Linked DNA regions of Homo sapiens: region 2 is linked to region 1. Evidence: promoter capture Hi-C in human tissues and cell types (Jung and others, 2019). All regions are on one chromosome and are shown on one strand. The core of a region is centred on a gene start or on the middle of the fragment in contact, and the rest is flanking DNA. Distances in the headings are between cores, read along the strand shown.

The links. The method cuts DNA at HindIII sites, captures the fragments that hold promoters and counts their contacts. A contact is called where the count stands out against the background at its distance.
Region 2: a fragment that was not itself captured here is called in contact with the fragment with the promoter of IRAK3 in region 1 in 1 of the 25 tissues and cell types used here (stomach).

The regions. Positions count from the first base shown.
Region 1 is chr12:66,187,138-66,190,745 of GRCh38, reverse strand. It overlaps IRAK3 (interleukin 1 receptor associated kinase 3), which reads right to left and starts at 1,532. Exons shown (of 12, transcript NM_007199.3): 1 at 1,314-1,532. The coding sequence starts at 1,446. RefSeq lists silencers at 1,198-1,357, 1,378-1,427. The HindIII fragment of the contact is 8,386 bases long and covers 1-3,608 here.
Region 2 is chr12:66,335,706-66,339,313 of GRCh38, reverse strand. HELB (DNA helicase B) reads right to left here. Exons shown (of 13, transcript NM_001370285.1): 13 at 1,115-1,313. The coding sequence ends at 1,212. Among named protein-coding and RNA genes, the nearest start is that of HELB, 35 kb to the right of the region's middle. The HindIII fragment of the contact is 6,484 bases long and covers 1-3,608 here.

The sequences.
Region 1 (3,608 bases), core at 283-2,782:
CTGACCTGTTAAAAAAACACTGGCGATGATAATGACTCACAGAGTAATTGGAGAAGTTATATGAGACAAGCCATGTAAAGCATGAATATCTGGATTTCAATGCTATCAACAGAAAGAGAGAGAATAATCTGCCTCACTAATTTACCACACCCACCTGGCCCCATTCACCAACATTAAACTGGACTAAAAACACTTTTCTTTCTCAAAGTCAGTAACTCTAGGAAATCAACGGGTATAAATACTGTCCACGCCAAAATCCATCTCAAAAAGATCTGATGGGGAAGTGACCTTATCCCTCAAAATCCCTCAAATGCACACTGGAAATCTCGTTTTCTAGAAATCAGACTTTTTTTTTTTTCTTAAGGGCCATAACTTAAAATTACAGAGCTTAAAATATATAAACATTTTTTGTATAACCAGAAGCCCATTGCTACAATTCAAAGACTGTCACCATACTGTTCATCAGTAACAAAGAAAACTCTCCTCTTAGGCCTTCTGCTAGTCCTGGTAAGAAAAATCCTATTTCAGACCATTAAAGCTAAGTTATTTTGACATAATCATGATTCTTTTCAATAAACATTAAACATGACATTGTGGAATATCAAATCTAACCAAAAATGCCTGTACTTAACAAAACGAAGATTTTTGTCCGAATTATCTCTGGCTACACTCAACACTTCCAGCAGGCAGTTGCTCAACTTTCCAATGTCTGCATAAAATACAGTTCTGAAGCCAATTTTTTTAGATTAAAATAAAAAGCCACCCTTTAGCATAAACCTTCATTCAACGAAATTGGGTAAATAAGATTTAATTAAGAAAATTAGGAGCCGCGTTCATTGCAAACCGTAGTTTACTTTAGCATTTCACTTGTAATTAAGTTAGGGGCTTAGGGATGCATTGAAAACACCAAAGGATAAGTATCTCAAAGTTCTAAAAATGTCTCAATACTAAAATGATGTTCTGGGGTGATTTTGCAAGGACCAGAAGACATCATACATTGCGAACCCAGTGAGGGTGGCATCGCGGACGAACAGAAGATGCTTTCACGCTGGTTATCTGTCTTTCCCAGGCCTCGGCTCCCTTGACTTTGCAGCGATACCCAAAATTCTTTGAAAGAGAAGGGAGGGAAGGCATCTGGGTCCCAGGGAGTCTCTGCATCCAACCCAGGAAAGGAGGGGGCCGGCTCCCTGGCGGGAACTTCCCGGAGGCCGCGCCAGCCCCGCGAGGGACCCCAGCCATGCAGGGCGACGCCGAGCGGGCCCCGCGGCGCGCTGGGCTCCCCCGCCGCCCCCGGCCGGTCCCCGCCGACTCACCCAGGCCGCGCCAGCCCAGCGCGCCGTCGCAGCTGTCCAGAACAGCGCAGAGCTCTCCGAGCAGCGCGGGCGGCAGGTCGAACAGCAGCGTGTGCGCCGACAGCGCGCCGCGGGCCCCACAGTTCCCCGCCATGGCTCGGCTGCCCGAGCCCCGGGGACGAGGCGGAGTCCAGGTCCCTGCACGCCTGCGACAGGCCGTTACACAACCGCGGAAATCCTGCTTCCACGACGGCAGCAGAGCCCTAGGAACACGCCGTTCTCCGGTCACTGCAGGGGCGGTGCCCACGTGACGCAAGGCGCGCCTCGCCCGAGATGCCCCTGCGTCCGCCTGGCCAGGCCTGGGGGTTACCCGACCCGGGTTCTCCCTTCGCTGGCTTTGCGCCCCTTCACACCTCTGCGGTGGGGACGGAGCTGCCGAGACAAGCAGAGTGCGAACTGGAGAAAGCCCAGAGCTCAGAGCTCCCAGGAGCCCACCGTGCCCCACGGCTAGGCGGTCTCCTGGTGTGGACGGCTAGCGGTGTCATTACTTCTTACAAAAGTTTATTTTTGAAAGCTTCTCCCTTCCTTCCTTCTTCCCTTCCTTTCTTTTCTTCCTTTTTTCTTTGTTTTGAGTCAGGTTCTCACTCTGTCGCCCAGGCAGGAGCGCAGTGGCGCTATCTCAGCTCACGGAGCCTCCACCTATTGGGCTCAAGCGATCCTCCCACCTCAGCCTCCCGAGTAGCTGGGACCACAGTCGCACGCCACCACGTCCGGCTAATTATTTTTTTTCGTTTTTCGTAGAGAGGGAGTGTCGTTATGCTGCCCAGGCTGGTTTCAAACTCCTGGCCTCAAGCGATCCTCCCACCTCCGGCTTCCCAAAGTGCTGGGATTCGGGGTGTTAGCCACTGTCCCGGACTACTTCTTTTTTATCCTGTCAGAAAAACTATCCATGTTCATCGAGGAACACTTGGAAAACCCAGAAAAAAACTGAAAAAAGAAGATAATCACTCACAACCCCACTCAGCCCATCACACTCTAAAAGTTTTGACACATTTTCCTCCCAACTTTTACTGAATTTAAACAGATAAAAATGTACATATATGGGATTATTATTGGAAAAGATGAATGTAGATACCAACAAGAGAAAAACAGAAAAGACACCAAATCAGCGTAAAATTATGTTCGTTTTCTTCACGAGGCGGCCTCTCCTCCATACACCTACTTGGTTTTAATAAATTTTCTTCCTCATGGGCTTCCTTGATGAAATATCGTTCCATCATTTTTTCCTTCCTCAAAGTGCTTCACACAATCTTCCTTTTTGCCTTCAACATGGAGTTTAAGTAAAATTGTTGTTTTGAAATCTTCACGGAGTTTAAGTAAAATTGTTGTTTCAAAATCTTCTAGGTCACATGAGGCATGTTACCAGTGACAAAAAGTTGTTTTGAAAGTGGTGAGAAAAATCTCAGCCTTAGTGACTGGAAGAGTGGGCAGTGGCCATCAAGTGAAAACACCAGAGGTGTTTTGAAACCTCTCAGATTGTAGTCTTTGGAATAGCTGCCCCTAGAGATCACGAGTGATGAAACACTATCATTTCATGCCCCTACCTGAATGGTTTTGCCAGCGAAAATACTTCATAAAAATGTATCTGAAAACTGGCAAAGCCCATACTGTGTGGGCAAGAATTTCGATATCCCGTTGTTCAAGGTTTTATTGTCAATCTGTACACACTGTACACCTACCTACCTTCCTTCCTTCCTTCCTTCCTTCCCTCCTTTCTTCCTTCCTTCCCTCCTTTCTTTCTTATTTGTTTTTTTTAGTCGCTCTGATTGCCCAGGTTGGGGTGCAATGGTGCGATCTCGGCTCACTGCAACTTCCACCCCCTGGGCTCAAGCCATCCTCCCACCTCAGCCTCCAGTACAGCTGGGACTACAGGTGCATGCCACCATGCCTGGCTAACCTTTGTAGTTTTTGTAGAGACGGGGTTTTCCCATGTTGCTCAATCTGGTCTCAAACTCCTGGGCTCAAGTGATCCACCTCCCTAGGCCTCCCAAGGTTCTGGGATTACAGGCATGAGCCACCACACCCGGCCCTCTATACATCTCTTAAAGGGACTACCTGAACATGCTGAGCAACAGAGGCAAAAGGCCATTAATTATTTGGTAGCTTTTGAATTGCTACTACAGGGAGGCAAACTCACTCAGAGGAAACAGGAAATCACTGCAGATGAGGGAAGCAATCAGAAAGGCCTGCTTTACCAGATCTTGTAATTTACCAAGAAGCAAGGATCCTAAGTGAAAGCTAGAGTATGTGAAATTT
Region 2 (3,608 bases), core at 426-2,925, 150 kb before region 1:
AAAAAAAAAAGTTCTAAAATTGATAATAATGGTAGTTGTCCAATTTGATGAATATACTAAAAGCCACTGAATTATATACTTAAAATGGGTGAAATGTATGTGAATTATATCTCAATAAAGCTATTAACCATTTATGCCTGAGGTTGCAACTTTCTGAATTTTTGCAATCAGACGTTGGTGAGGACTTTGAGCAGTGGGATATAAATAACTCTCACATGTTTAGTGTCCCAATAATGGACCACTAGGCATAAATGGGTTAACAGATATATTTTTCATCTTGACTTTTTCTTTTACCATTTAACATAAATAAAAATTTAAAAATCAAATCATTCTGAGAGAGAAAAAACCTTCCTAAGTGGAACATATTCAAAACAATGTGCTCCCAACTCAGAAAGCACTTCCAAGGAAAAGTCCCAGGTAGGCTGGGCCCCAGGCAGCAGTGATGAAGTGAGCAGCAGTCTTGTAAAATGACCACATTTCAACATCCTAGGAGGCATGTCAATAACATCAACAGATGTAATTACACCTTTTCTTTGCCACTGCTTCAACCCATTGGCAAAGGTAACACACAACGATCATCAAAGTTACGAGGCATTATCCTAAAAATACAATGTTTTAATGTACATAATTGTTTGTTTTTTTTTGTTTGTTTGTTTGTTTGTTTTTTTTTTGGAGACGGAGTCTCGCTCTGCCACCCAGGATGGAGTGCAATGGTGCAATCTCAGCTCACTGCAACCTCCGCCTCCCGGGTTCAAGCGATTCTCCTGCCTCAGCCTCCTGAGTAGCTGAGATTACAGGCATGTGCTACCACACCCATATAATTTTTGCATTTTTAGTAGAGATGGGGTTTCACCATGTTGGTCAGGCTGGTCTCAAACTCCTGGCCTCTGGTGATCCACCTGCCTCAGCCTCCCAAAGTGCTGGGATTACAGGCATGAGCCACCGTGCCTGGCTTAATGTACATAATTGTATAAAAATATATATGTATATAAAATATCTAATCTCTTCACTTATGTCCAGTGCTACCAGTTCTCATGATGACGTGTTGAAATCATTAATACTTTGATGAAATGGATTTAAAACATTTGCTAACACAAATACCTTAAAACTCCAGTTATAGGAAACTTTTTTTATCTTGGTACTTTGACGTTACGATGTTCATTTTGTCTCCAATAGAAAAACATAGTTACTCGGAACAATTTGAAATAAAACTAAGTTTCTTGATTATCGGTGGGCTTGAAAAGTTGCCTGGGAATTAAATTATTCAGTCTCAAATTCTGAAGTCTGGAAGACACTTGTGGAGATTCTCCCACCTGTTAGAACAATTAAAATAACAAAGTTAATTTTGTAAAAATGTAGTTAGTCTACCCTACGTACTTGTATTCCCTCTGCTTCAGAAAAAGAAATCATGCACCTTCCCCAACCCTTGAAAGGCTTCAGCAACCAAAGCAATTGGCTATCAGCTCCTTGTAGGATCACATCTGCTTTGCTCACTGTGGTATCTCTAGCACCCAGCTCTGGGTCTGGCATTTAGAAGTAACTATGTACTGAATTAGTATGTGTGTCTAACTTCTAAAGGTGTAGACAGGGCCCACTACATAATTTGGCAGCCCAGTCCAAAATTAAAATGATGGCCCCTTGTTCAAAATTAAGAATTTCAAGATGGTGATTACAGAACTTTTTTTTTTTTTTTTAAGTGTGGGCCTGAGTCCTGGAGGACTGCCCATGTTGCCTGCCCATGAAGTCAGTTCTGGATGTGTAAGATAAAACATTGCAATGCCACAGTCATATTCTTTGTGCTACTAATGATTCTGAAGTGGGCCAGTATCGTCATGATGAAGTTTCACCACCATAAAGAAATGAAAAGAGTAAGCACAATTCAATTTTAGGAAAAGGGTCTTTCTTTGGAATTGCCTCTCTTTTCTGCTCATGTCAAAAGCCTTATTCCAGGACCTCTGTAAGAGATGACAAGTTTAATTTCAGAAAAAGATATTTTCCTGAGATGGAAATTCTATCAAAGAGTTGACCTGGGGTACAAAATGGAACCTAGAATCAGCAGGGATTCTACTGTCCAAGAGGGGAAAAAGAAGAAACTTCCCCCTCCACCCTCAACTATGTCCATTTTACTCACTTTTCCCACAAAACCTGACCCTCAGACTCTTTTCCCAATCTGATTAATGGTGCTGGATCCACCTGTATGCCTTAGCCAGAAGTCTTGGAGTTATCCTCAGGCCCAACCCCACCTGAATCCAACTGATCATTAAGTCCCATCAGCTCTATCCTTAGCATCTCTTCTCCAACCCCATTGCTACTACCTAATGTTAGAACCTCCTCATTTTACGCAGGTTACTGAAATAATCTTTTGGCTGAGAACTCATTCCCTACTCTCTCCCTAACCATCATCATCCACTAAACCTCAGTCAATATCACCATCATAAATTTCAATTCACAGAGTACTTAAAATGCTTCTACTGTTCTCAGTTGCAATCAGAAGAATCTACGACCTCTTCAGAAGACCCTGTGTCCATCCTCCCTGCCAGTTCCTGTGTCTGCAGCCCATCCTCTCACTGTGCCCTGTGCTCCAGCCATGCTGTTCTACATCTGTAGTCTCCTAATGTGCCAGGACTCCACACACCGTGCCCTGTGTCAGACCGACTCCTAGAGAACGTTTTCCCTGTGCCATATCCATATGGGGACAGAGGATATAAGTATTCCCCATTTACAACTCAGCCTGGTTCTGGCAGGTTACACCAGCACTTTCTCCCCTGGGTTCCCCCTGTGGCCCCTTCTTACCTTTATTACAGCCTTGGAAGCTTAAAGACTCAACTGAACAAGTCTGCTGCCAGCACTTAAAGCAATTCTTACACTTCTATTAGAACCACATTTGGAAATTACTTATAATCCCACCTTTTTTTTTCTTTTTAACACAAAATCCATTACCCAAATTGGATCCTCTAACTCATAAAACCAGAAAGCAAATGCCTTTGGGTTATTTCCTAAACTCAGAATAGGTCTCAACAGAAGTTTGCTTCCCTTATAAACATTCAAAAGGATCTTTTACTGCCTCAAAAGCAATTCCAAAAGGAACTGTCAAACTAAAGGAGGGGCACTAGAAGAATAAAAGTATGACTTTCAGTACAACCTGAAAGAACAATATTCTGAATGTCTGATTTTTTAAAAAAAAGTTTCATCGCCATATATTCATGACTCATATTTTGATCACTAAGTATTTTTGAGGTATTACCATGTGAACAGCAATTGTACCAAATGTTCTAGCAGATCAAAAATGATACACTGTCCTCAAGAAGCTTTATTTACAGAGTCAAACAAGGTTACTACAGGTGCAGTACAGAAGGGGTGTGTGCCCTCCTACAGGAGTTCAGAGAAAAAGAAGCCTTCAGGAACAACACAGAAACTGAGCTGGATTATAATAAGAAGAGAGAGAGGATGGCATGAGGTGATCAGCTTGGAACTGCTTTATCTTCCCTCTGCTATATATACCCAACGTACTACACCCATTCCTTCTGGTTGTCATGGAAAAAGGGTCCTCTGTCCCTAATCCTGTCTCAGGGCAACCCCTCTAGTTATTCTCTTGATTTTTCCCATCT